Linked DNA regions of Homo sapiens: all the other regions are linked to region 3. The links are contacts of gene promoters, found by promoter capture Hi-C in human tissues and cell types (Jung and others, 2019). All regions are on one chromosome and are shown on one strand. Each heading gives the region's core, a stretch centred on a gene start or on the middle of the fragment in contact. The rest is flanking DNA. Distances are from core to core; before and after follow the strand shown.

What was found. The method cuts DNA at HindIII sites, captures the fragments that hold promoters and counts their contacts. A contact is called where the count stands out against the background at its distance.
Region 1: a fragment that was not itself captured here is called in contact with the fragment with the promoter of PHF12 in region 3 in 1 of the 25 tissues and cell types used here (dorsolateral prefrontal cortex).
Region 2: a fragment that was not itself captured here is called in contact with the fragment with the promoter of PHF12 in region 3 in 1 of the 25 tissues and cell types used here (hippocampus).

Annotation. Positions count from the first base shown.
Region 1 is chr17:29,129,599-29,134,113 of GRCh38, forward strand. All of the region lies in intron 2 of MYO18A (myosin XVIIIA), which reads right to left. Among named protein-coding and RNA genes, the nearest start is that of MYO18A, 49 kb to the right of the region's middle. RefSeq lists an enhancer at 3,493-3,787. The HindIII fragment of the contact is 7,003 bases long and covers 1-4,515 here.
Region 2 is chr17:28,810,141-28,813,991 of GRCh38, forward strand. All of the region lies in intron 1 of FAM222B (family with sequence similarity 222 member B), which reads right to left. Among named protein-coding and RNA genes, the nearest start is that of FAM222B, 31 kb to the right of the region's middle. RefSeq lists an enhancer at 1,902-2,544 and a silencer at 2,070-2,359. The HindIII fragment of the contact is 5,142 bases long and covers 1-3,851 here.
Region 3 is chr17:28,949,760-28,953,752 of GRCh38, forward strand. It overlaps PHF12 (PHD finger protein 12), which reads right to left and starts at 1,759. Exons shown (of 15, transcript NM_001033561.2): 1 at 1,136-1,759; 2 at 306-487. The coding sequence starts at 1,201. LOC105371716 (a long non-coding RNA gene) reads left to right here and starts at 1,843. Exons shown (of 5, transcript XR_001752822.2): 1 at 1,843-3,649. RefSeq lists enhancers at 1-260, 2,001-2,050, 2,151-2,560, 2,262-2,883 and silencers at 1-50, 1,561-1,830. The HindIII fragment of the contact is 9,214 bases long and covers 1-3,993 here.

The DNA.
Region 1 (4,515 bases), core at 660-3,159, 180 kb after region 3:
GTGCTTGAGTCCTTGTTACCCAAAACAATGATCTTGGTTCTAGAACACATATGGGCACTGGGCTCCGTGAAGGCCCACCTGCCCATGCTTGCTTGGATGCAGGAAGACGCTCACAGTAGGCGCACCTGGGAGCTGCTGCCTCTGGATGCCACAAGGAGAAGTTGCTCCACCTTTTGAGCAGAGCTGAGCCAAGGGCCTTAATCTAGGCCCTGGTTACAGGTTGGCTCCGCTGAAGGGATAGAGAGAGTAAGGGCTTGAAGGTGCCTCTTCCTCAACCTCTTAGGCCAAGAGTGCTCAATGGCATGCCAGGGCACTGCAGAGTTGGCCAGTGGCCCTAGCCACTGGATCCTACACTCCTCCCCTCCCTCTTCTGGCTTTCCTCCCATCCCCCTTCCATCATTAAGATGATGACGATGGGCCAGGTGTGGTGGCTCACGCCTGTAATCCTAGCACTTTGCGAGGCCAAGGCAGGGAGACTGCTTGAACTCAGGAGTTCAACACCAGCCTGGGCAACATGGTGAAACTGTTTCTACAAAAAATACAAAAAGTAGCCAGGCTTGATGGTGTGTGCCTATAGTCCCAGCTACGCTACTCAGGAGGCTGAGGTGGGAGGATGGCTTGAGCCTGGGAGGCAGAGGTTGCAATGAGCTGAGATGGCACCACTGCATTCCAGCCTGGGTGACAGAGTAAAACCCTGTCTCAAAAAAAAAAAAAAAAAAAAAAAAGAAAAGAAAATGATGACAATGATGATGATAGTAATTGGTAAGACTTACACAGTACTCACTATGGGCCATGGCACTCTTCCAAGCACTTTACATGTAGTTTTTGCAAAAAAAATAAAATAAAATAAATTCTGGGCAACTCTGAGGCCTCTCCCACACACACACACACACACACACACACACACACACACACACACACACACACACAACCCTTTCAAATCACAGGCTGGCTTTCCAGGATTGTTTGCAGATCAGGTGGAAGCCACAGTGCCTGGCTAATCAAACTGACCAAGGAAGTGCAGGGAGCCAGGACAGGCACCATCTGGGGTAATGAAGTAAGAATATGTGTTGTGATCCAGCTCTGCCCCAGAGCCCTGGGCACTCCTGCCCCCTGTGCTACCAGCTGCCCTCTCCTAACTACACATCTTTGGACTTGGCTATTCAGAAACCTAAGGCTATTCTTGCCTTAGGAGAGTCCAGGTTTATTCAGGGTCTCTATCCCAATGCGCTGGGGCTGGAGGCAGTGAGTAGCTGGAGCCTGCCTCCAGGTCACCTGCACCAAGCAGCTGACAGGGTCTTGGAAGAGACAGCAGCGACTACAGTGAAGTCCCTCCATGCCTTTGCCTTGTGCCACCCAGAGCAGGCTGAAGAATCCCAACAGCTGAGCTCTCATTCGACGCTCCCTGACCTAAGAGTTTGCCCACCCAAGCCTCTCCAGGCCCAAAGGGTTCAGGAAACCAGAACCAAAGGGAGGCAACTTAAGGGGATTGGGGAGGAGGTTAGGGGAGGTCCCCAAAGCACCTTGGCCATCTCCTTCACACACCTGAAGCTGGCATCACATACACCGTACTTTCTTCCCCTTTACTAGAATTCTCTTCAGCTGAGCCACACAGGAAGGGGCCCCCTGCAATCCCCACCTACTCCATGGAGCTGTCTCACAGGCTAGTCCAGGGCTAGTGGGTGCAGGGGCAAACACACACACGCACACACACATGCACGCATGCACACACACATGCCCGCACACACACACGCATGCCTCGGAGAACTCAAGGATGCACTTACAGCCCCTTCCTCCTTGCCAGGAGAGCCAGGCTTTGGCAGAGTTTTGTCCTCCTCTTTAACCTGAGGGAGCAGATGAAGAAGTCACTGGCAGGTCAAGGCTGGGAGACCCAGCACTAAAAGCACAGGGAGAGAACATTCAAGGGGCCTCCCTCACCCTGAGGTGGAGCTCCTGAGTCTTTAGGAATACCGGGGCTAGGGGACCTGGGCAAGAGCTATCCTATCCTAGAATCAGAACTGTTCAGTGATGACTTCAAGAATGAAGAGTCTGTGGGGGAAAAAGCCAAGTACCCTTGCCCTCAGCAACCAGCCACTTTGCCCACTTTGGGGGCTGTCTAAAGAGGTCCACCCACAGTGCCATCGTGGCTTTGGTTACGTGGCAGATGGGAAGATCCAGCTAATTTAACTCATCCAAACTACAAGAGTCATCCCTAGCTCAGGCAAGAAGTGGTTTGAACAAAAAGCCCCAGATCTAGTGACTGAGGAGGTAAAAGTAACCCAGTGTGGGTACCTGTGGGCCAGCAGCTTTTAGAGTAGAGTGAAGGTTGGCCCCTACTGGGCTGGCTCTGGCTTACTTCTTGATCCTGCACAACTCCCCCAGCTCAGCTGAGATCTTGCTGGAGGCAGGGAGTGGGGCAGAGGCGGAGATTCAGGAGGCCAGATATTTTCTCAACCTCAGACCCACAAAACTGCCAACCACGCAGCCGAGGGAGGGAACCCTGAAGTTAGGGGCGGGGTATGGAGGAAGGAAAGATGCCTAAGCTCTGGACACTGGGGCCAGGGGTTTGTGCTGGAGCCCAGGAGCTGGCTGGCCTGAGTCAGAGGGGAGGAGTGGAGTCGTGGAAACAGCAGATACCATCACACATCTGGAAAAAGGGCAGATGATGTGGAAGCTCTGAAGGTTCTTTCAGTTCAGAAACTGGCTCACAACAGATTCAGAGAGGCCAGGCCTCAAGTTTTAAAAAGTCTTCTCCTTTCCCCTCACCAGTATCTCTCCCTCCAAAAGCTCAGGCAGTCCTATGGATTTAATTTCTCCTCTTTCCCGCGTCACCTAGGACTACAGGAAAAAGACAGCCCTGTTACCAACCCTACCTCCTCCTCAGCGTGCCTCTCCTTCCCAGCACAATGTGGGTAGGAGCATGGCAAGAAGTCCTTGATTCCTAAGGGAAAAAATCTTTAGAAACATCCAGAATCATTTACATGATCCACTTGGGGGGACTCTCCAATTTTAACCAGGGTCTGTGGCTAATTTTGAGCTCAAATTAGCAGTGCCAGGGGCACTGGCTGGCGTGATGGCTGCTGCAGTTTTAAAGCTGCATCTTGTCCACAGAGCTATCTGCAACGGGCTCAATCTTCATAGTTAGCTCACAATGCCAAGGACGAGGGGAAATGGCAAATATTCACCAGAGTGGAGCCTACTTCTTTAAGAATTGGAATCGGAGCAGAGAAAGGGAAGGGAGGGACTGGTGGACAGAGGGAGGAAGAGTGGCAGGGTCTAGGTCTGTGCCTGCTGCCCCCCACCAAGCCATCACTCTCCCCCTTGCTGCCCCAGGGATCACACCATGCAGTAGTTCTGGGGCACACAGGTTAGTGGGAGGACAAGTGTTCGCAAACCACACAGACACACTCATTACTGCACGCAGTGCTGTTAACTTGGGTGCCGGGGTGGCCCAGATTCCAAGTCCACTCTGTGTTCTTCACCAGCTCCAAATCTGTCCTCCCTCCAGTGGCTCAAGTTTGGGACCCCAAATGTCTGGCCCAAGGTGTGGCATTGGGGAAAACACTGGGTGCCCCCCAAGTGTCTGAAACACTGGGCCCAGCTCTGAGCTCAGCTCTGGATTTAGCATCAGGCTGACTCACTCCTCCCTCCCCCATCAGAAGGGCTCTGGCTGTTGTAGGTCACTGCCCAGCTGGGGACTATGCACACGCATAAAGGCACACACACAGGCAGTCCCAAGTCTGTGGCCTGAATCACCCTCTGGACCCAGGTGGCCAACTGGCCTGACTCCCCACCCTTGGCCCCTTGTCCTCCTAACCCACTGCAGCCCCCAGGATCAGGGAGACCCAGTTCCAGCGGTCCCTCCACAGCAGCCCACGTTCCAGGGGTGAGTCAAGGCAGCAGGGTGGTGGGAAGGGTGTGGAGGGGTTAACCCAGAGGGACACCAGCAGGACAAAAGGCAGCTCACCTTACCAGAGGTGGGGCTTAGGGGAGAAGCATGACTCAGTGCAGGAGCCCATCCAGCCAGAATAGGGAGTTCACCAGCCCCCGTCATTCTCCCTGCCACCCCCAATTATACACACATGCCCCAATCCATCTCTAGCTTCCAAAGCTCCCTCTCCCACAAGCCAGTCTCCTGCCTGCAGATACAACATGCCAAGCACACAGGAAAAACATAAAGATTTTAAAATCCAACTTTCCTTTTGCTCCCAGAAGGCGAACCTTGATGAAAAGGCCATGGCGCTGAAGGTAACCTGTGCCCTGGGTCAGAGAAGAAATGGGGGGCAGGGTCTCTCAGTGTCTCTGAGTCTTCCCAAAGGCCAGAACCTGCCAGGATAAACACTGTGGGCAACAAGGGGAAAGGAGGGATGGAGTGGAGGAGGAAGGATTACAAAACTCAAGAGGGCATTGGAGTAAGGAATAAAATATTAAAGGAAAATGAAGGAAAGTAGGCACAGAACATAGCACTCCCTACCCTTGGAAGCTGTGTGCATTGTTTTTATTTTTTTATTTTTA
Region 2 (3,851 bases), core at 1,000-3,499, 140 kb before region 3:
AGTGCACCACCACGCCCAGCTAATTTTTTTATGTTTTGGTAGAGACGGGGTTTTCACCATGTTGGTCTTTAACTTCTGACTTCAAGTGATCCACCCACCTCAGCCTCCCAAAGTGCTGGGATTACAGGAGCAAGCCATTGCACCCCGCCTTCCAACTGGTTTTTTTGGTCACTTCCCCAGCTTCCTATACCTTAGATATCAAAGTGCACTTTGTTTTATATACTAGCTAACTCTGTTTTATATACTAGCTAACTTTGTTTTATATACTAGCTAACTTTGTTTTACATACTAGCTAACTCTGTTTTATATACTAGCTAACTTTGTTTTATATACTAGCTAACTTTGTTTTATATACTAGCTAACTTTGTTTTATATACTAGCTAACTCTGTTTTATATACTAGCTAACTGTAAAGGCTTCAATCAGTGATTTTTAACAGTTCACTCTCAGTAGCAAGTTAACTAGTCAACATCTGGGGGATCCCCTTTCCCTCCCAATTTAAATACAACTCATGGAGCCTTAAGGGACAAGTGAGTAATAAAAACCCAAAACCTGACACAGGATTACTGTGAATCTACTTTTTAGTAACATGTCTATTCTAAGGTATTTGAAATCTTCTTTTTAAAAAAGGTAAAGTAAGCTTCGTAATCCCTATTACTTTCCACAGCTGAAATGGTTTCCTATCCCATTATCCCTATTTTTTATAATACTTGCTTTCATCCCAAATTGCTCCTAATTGTCTAGAGATCTAATAAATCAATGCAAAGAAAAAAATCACTAATCTAGCCAAAAGTGTAAGACAGCTCCAGTGTATCAATTCTGTCTTCAAAAGTGGACCCCAGTTACAACAATCGTGGGAAACTGAACCTGTATTACATAAACTCTGAACCATTTTAATTAATATTTATCAAAGTGTTGCCAAAAAAAAAAATATTCATCCCTTTTGGTACTGTAGCTCTTTGCTAATCAACATTAAGATAAACCTGCTCCAAACACGTTTCGTTGAAAATGCCCATTTAGGCCAGGCGCGGTGGCTCACGCCTGTAATCCCAGCACTTTGGGAGGCCGAGGCGGGTGGATCACGAGGTCAGGATATCAAGACCATCCTGGCTAACACGGTGAAACCCGGTCACTACTAAAAATACAAAAAATTAGCCAGGTGTGGTGGCAGGCGCCTGTAATCCCAGCTACTCAGGAGGCTAAGACAGGGGAATCGCTTGAACCCTGGAGGCAGAGGTTGCAGTGAGCCGAGATCGCGCCACTGCACTCCAGCCTGGGCAACAGAGCGAGACTCGTCTCAAAAAACAAAAACAAAAACAAAAAAACCCCCACGAACTAAAATACATCTGGAGGTTTGTTTTTTTAAGTTTGGTTTTGGTTTTTGACGATAGAAACTACTCCCTCCGAGGGTCTGTGAATATAAGAAATATACCAACAGAGAAAAAGATAAGACTTTTAAGTTTCAGCAACAGCAAGGTAAGTTTGCCTGCTCTAGTCAGGTTTCTCCAACAGAGATGAGCTACTACACAAAGCCGGTGACAATGTACTCCAGGAAGAGACTTTAGCAGAGTTAATCACTAACAACTATCAGGATTTCCTTTAACCACCATTTGACTGGGGCTGCTCCCTCTTTCCACTAGCACCTCCTCTCCTTTCAGATTGTTATTGCTGATCAAGGCAGTCCCAAGGAGGAAAATGGTGAAGACAACCTTAATGGACACGCATGGAGTACAGTTCCAAATATCCACTCCTAGCTTGCCTTTTCTTTTTTTTAAATTACGGTTTACTGCATCAGATACCACACAAAAAAGGGCTCCTCTTTTCTTCTCTGTGCATTTTACTATGCGACCGATATCGACACATCAGTAAAAAGAGATAAGAGTCCTGAATCTCCTTACCCATCTGCAGGGGTGAGATGAAGGGAAGGAAAAAAAATGATGAAGGGTAGAAACAGATAATCAAAATAAACTGATGCGATCCAGAGACATTATTTCCCGTTCCATTTCCCCTTTTCTTACAAGGTTAAGTCGGCTGAAGTCGGGGTCGCGTTAGAAAAAGCACACACACACCTTGCGCCCTGGAAAGGTGAGGTTCGCTCCGCAGCGCTCCGTGGGGCTCCTGGCTCCGCCCCGCCCGCCTTGGGCAGCTGAGCCCAGCTCACCCCCGCCCCGGGAGGATGGAAGAGAGGGGGCTTCTAGCGGTCTAGGCAGGGGGAGGGGGAGGCGGCTGCTCCGGGTGCCAGGCTCACGGAGCGCAGGACTCCGCGGTGCGCCGACACCCCCTCCCCCAGCCGGCTGCCGCTTGCTCCCAGCCGCCGCCGGAAGCCAGCCCCGCCCCCTCACCTCCACCCTGGCTCTTCGCGAGCCCTCTCCTGTCTGCACAGCCAATGGCGAGCCAGGGAGCCAGCAGAGCGACTCGCCAAACAGCCAACTGGGGAGGCCCACAGGGAGGTCAGCCACCGGGATAGGCCCGCTACCCGCGGACCCGGCCCGACTCGGCTCCTCTTTGTTAGCGCTGCCCCCATCTCTCCCGGCCCCTACCCCAAAGCCAGGAGCCAAGCATCCCGTAGCTGGGCCAGGTGAAGCTGCGCCCCTTTGCACCCCTTCTCCCTCTGTCCCCTTGTCCCCTCCCACTTTCTGCCTGGGTACTAGGAGACCCCCCCCCACCCACGCGATACCTCCCAGAGTGCCTCAGACTTCAACAGCAATTGCCACCTGGAGACACTCGACAGTAAAAAGATGCTCCCCAAGCCTCTCTGCCTCTAGTCTAATCAACTGCACTGCACTGTAACAGTGGACGGATTTAGGATTGCATATTAAATCAACTGCACACATCAATCCTCCCTGTCGGAAACTCGTGCTTCCCGTGACGCAGAAATTAAGCGGGGGGGGGGGGGGGGGGGAGGGGGGGGCGTTGGAGGCATGTTGGGAAAGTATGTATCTAGAAGTTGGTGGGGTGGAGAAGGGAATACATGAAATCATCAGACACAAAAAAAAAAAAAACACACACATACAAAAAAAAAAAACACACATAGTTGGCTCCAACCTGTTTCAGATACAAAACATCCAATGTATTTAGCTGGATGTATCCAATCCAGTTAAATCCCAAGATAACAATTCCTTTAGCAGGTTTCAGTACAATTAGGAAGCAAACACCTAATCCTTGTTCAGTCATATACCTAATATTATGGGGAACATACTCTCAGCAACCAGACTGGAGGAGACTAAGACAACATGAAAAATAAATGCAATGTGTGATTCTGACCTGGATCCTTTTTGCTATAAAGTATATAACTGGTATAATAATAAGCAACAGTTGAAGAGGATCTGATAATTATATGGAAGTAATGTGTCAATGTTACTTTCCTGATTTTGACAGTTGTTTCTTTTTTTTTTGTTTTTTTTGGAGACGGAGTCTCGCTCTGTTGCCCAGGCTGGAGTGCAGTGGCGAGATCTTGGCTCACTGCAAGCTCCGCCTCCCAGGTTCATGCCATTCTCCTGCCTGAGCCTCCCAAGTAGCTGGAGTAGCTGGGACTACAGGTGGCCGCCATCACGCCCAGCTAATTTTTTTTTTTTTTTTGTATTTTTTAGTAGAGACGGGGTTTCACTGTGTTAGCCAGGACGGTCTCGATCTCCTGACGTCGTGATCCGCCCGCCTCGGCCTTCCAAAGTGCTGGTATTACAGGCGTCAGCCACCGCGCCCGGCATGGAATAGGACATTTTAAACACTGTGGTATATTTTCTGGGGTGTAGTGATAGAGCACTACATGGGGCTCATTTAAGAAAACTGGCCGGGCGCGGTGTGTCTCACCTGTAATCCCAGCACTTTGGGAGGCCAACGTGGGCAGATCAC
Region 3 (3,993 bases), core at 509-3,008:
CCCGCCACTGCCGGCTGTCCCCGGCCGGCTCTGTCCCGGCTCCCCAGCGACTTCCAATCCCATATGGGGTTCTCTTCACTCGTCCCAACCCCCACCTCGGGGTCCGGACCCACCGCTGCTCCTCCCCGCTAAACTGCCAGAACCCGGCGGACACCTGGGGGCGGGGAGGTGCTCGCCCCGGCAGCTGCAGAAAGTCAGCTAGCGGCTGCAAGCGCCCGTTATTTCGGCAGTCAGGGGCAGGCCGGGTGAAGGAATGCGCAGAGAAGGGTCCGCCAAGAAGCTCCAAAAGGGTCCCCAGACCTTACCAGCACTGGAGGTGGAAGGCAGCCGGGCAGTGGTCGCAGCACAGGAGATCTCCACCTTCCTTGCAGCTATCGCAGCTGTCGTGGTTGGTGGCCCTGCCGCTTCTCCGGGGCTCCTTCTCAGGCTTCCGACTGCGCTTTTCTGCCTCGTCCGTCTTGGGGGGAGCCAGCAGAGCTTGGATTTGCTGCACACACATACAAACGGCGTGTGTGCACACTCGGAGCTCCCGGGCGGTCCGTCGCCCCCCCGGCGCGGTTTCTCCGTCACCCACCCCTCTCCCCCCTTTTGTCCTTCTTCCTCCCATCCAGGCTGCTCCCAGAATCTCTCAGCCCCCGGAACCAGGGGGAGCCCACCCTAACCGCGTTCCTGCAGCACAACAACGAGAACAGCTTCTTCCAAATGGGGAGGATCAAGGGTAGGGGGATGGGAAGAGGGTGCGCGGTTCCCTTCTTGCCACTTCCTTGTATGGACAGTGGGGGACTCCAAAGACCCGCTCGGGAGAGGCCCAAAGCCCGGTACCCGGACGTGCTGGGGGAAGCACAAAGGGGCCAACAAGAAGGGGGTGGGGAGGCCTGCCGGTGCAACGAGATGGAGTGGGCTGGCGCCTCGGGAGAGCGAATCGAGGGCGGCGGGTAGGTGAAACTGCTGCAAACGTCCTCGGAGGCTGAGCTCAGCCCCCTAAATTGCAAAGAGGGGAGGGAGAGGCTAGGTGAGGAAGAATCCCCCTCCCTCGGCCATCTAGGCGCTTCGAGTTTAGGACTGGCTTTGTGGGGCGGAGGGCGGAGGTTCCCTCCCGGCGCTGGAGGAAGGAGATGAGGAGGGCCACTCTTACCTCCATCAGCCCCCCTGATGTGTCCAAGTCGTACACGATCGTCTTGGTCTCCATTTTCTCCCACATTCATCCACCTCCCGGGCTGGGTGCTCTCTGCTCCGGCCCCCCCAACCCCGGGGGGAGGGGGGAGGTGAGGGGAGGGGGCGCTCCTGACCCCGGCCCCGCTTTTTTCCCAATACGGGTCCCGACTTCCTCGCCCTGGCTCCCCCCCACCCCCCGGCCCCCAGTCCCCGGGACGACAGCGTCCTCCCGACGGGCCGCGAGGGGGGAGCGGCCCCTCAGTCCCGGCCCGGCTGCTGGCTGCACAGTGGGTCCCGGCTCCGGGGGTCAGGCCTCGGCGGGGCCTAGTCCCACAGGCTAAAGCCGGCACTGGCGACAGCCGGTCCGGCCGGGAAGGCTGGCGGGCGCTGCCATCCCGGGGCTGGGGGTATCGGAGGGGGGGTGAGAGGTTACGTGAGGTTGTGGTACGTGAGGTGACTGGGGGGAGGGTGATGGGGGGTGGTCCCCGGGCTCCGCCTCTCGCCGCCGCCGCCGTCTGCGTCCCGGCTGCCGCGCACTTGGCGCAAACTTACCGCGAGCGCCCGCAAAGCCACCCGCGCAGGCGCCCCGGGATCGGCGCTCGCCGCGCGCAACCGCAGTGACAGCCGGCGGCCTGGCTCCCGCGCAGCCGCGGTGAGGGAGTACCCCCCAGCGCGCAGCCGCGCTGGCATTCGTCTGGAGGACCGAAGCCCCACCTTTCTGCCCTGCGCCAGCGCACTGAGACAAAAGGGCGGGACCTGAGGTCTCGCGCAGGCGCTTGAGAAAGCTTGTAGGGGTCAAGGCGCAGCCGCAGGAAGCTAGGGACTGTTCATCCATTGGTGTTTGTGTGCAAACTAAGACGACTCTGTTCTGCGCAGGCGTGTTGGGGGTGCTCCCCCTTCCTCTCCATAACACAGACGCCTCCCGCGCAGGCGTATTGCCTTCCGCAGGCCCTCACAAGAAAGCTGCTCCTTTCGCCATTTTGGTAATGGGATATGGGCTATCATGCCCTTGGAGTCCTCAGGCATGAACAGAAAGGAGCAAGGTGTGGTGTTGGATGGAGCTGGTCGCCTGTCGGTGACAGCAGTATTCCTAGGGATGTTGTACTTGACCGTTTGGTTCTACCATCGGGTGTGGCTGGACCAGGCCACCATATTGGTAAAGAGAAAAGCCATTTGAGACAGAAAATGACGCTTTTGGAGGCGTGTGGGATGACTGTGGTTCCTAATTCTCTCCCGCTCCTGACAGATAATTTTATCAGTTAATTGTATCCTCAGCATCCCTGCCTTGCGTGGTGGTGGCACTGGAGAGTTCCGCCTGCCCGTTACCACCCTCTCTTCACCACTGTCCCTGAGATCTGCTCTTCAAGAGGAAGCCTAAAGTGGAGAGTTTGTAATCCTGACAACGCCCAGCTACCTGCGTACCCCGGACTCCAACTCCCAGTTTGCAACGCCAAAGGGTCTAAAGGGCGAACGGGGGCGCATTGCATCCTGGGAGCAAGAATCGCGATAGGTCTGATGGATTGTGGGAACTGTAGTTCCATGTGCGTGCGATGCACTCTATGGTAGGATAGACCCGGGGAAGAGTCATTTGCCGGCCAGGAAGGGATACTTTTGAGAGCGTCAGTGCTGCATGCCGGGATTTGTAGTCTGAGGGCCCGCCTCGCATTCTGGGCGGGGATTCATGCTCCTTTTCAGGGCGCCCGCTCCTCCCCTTGGTATTGCCGTCAGAGATGGGCGGTTGGTTATTGCTGCCTGATGGTGGATGAAGCAGTGGAAAAGAGAATTGTATCGTTGTGCTTGACACTAGGGGTTTAGTTGGAATTGTTGCTTCGTAGCTGTGCTCGGCCCACTTTTAATGTTAAGGGACACAGCATTCTCAGAGTCGTCAAACTAGCAAGGGTTTAGAGACCATCTGATTTAATCCCCTCTTTTCCAGATGCACAGGGAGGCGCAGTGATTTGCCTAGGTCACATAGTGCATTTATGGCAGACCTAAGAATTGGATTTCTTGATTCTCAAGCCAGACACTGTCCATTACACTATGTCGACTGTGTCTAAGGAATTACTATGCTTGCTTTGGGGACAGTAAGGAGGATGAGTTAGACAGAGTGGGGATGTCAGTGTATGGAGTCTTAGGTTTCTGTTTTCCTGACTTTTCGCTTTTCTGATGACCCTCTTGGTGCCTGGAAAGAATGATAAGGTCATGGATGGTGGGGTGGAGAATGTCATGTGAATTGGCTGCCCTCTGCTTTCTACCATTCTGAGCCAACAATAAACTTCAGGAGCTGTGGACCAGAGATGTGGCCATCAGAGAGGGGAGGGCTGAGCTAGATTGTTTGTATGAAAGAGGCAAGATTTTCTATCTCCTATGGCTATATTTTATGTCACAGGCTCTCAGAGTTTAGAACCTCATGTGCCCTCTCTCTTTGGCTTTTTTTCCTACTGCTCAGGGCCCAGCTGTGCTGCTGTGTTAACCTGGAGGCATTATGGAACAGGTAAGTAAGCCATTGGCATCCATCCACTGGACAAGGCTTTGCTTTGATCAACACCATCAATTGCAGCTGATAATAGGAACTATGGGCTAATGAGGGAAATAAGACTTGGCTCTGTTGACAAGAGCCAGGGAAACTTCACACCTCTTCCTCTTGGAACTTGCAGGATGAGGTTAGGCCAGTGGGGCCAAGGAATGCTCCCACCTTGGAGAGCTCCCGCCCTGACAGTTGAGGGGGGATTGAGGGGCGAGCAGGTGGGATACAGACGCCTTTGGAAGTGACCTCTTGTGGCTAATCTAGGCACTGCACTCTGCATGGACAAGAGCTTCTCCATCCTTCAAGGTGGC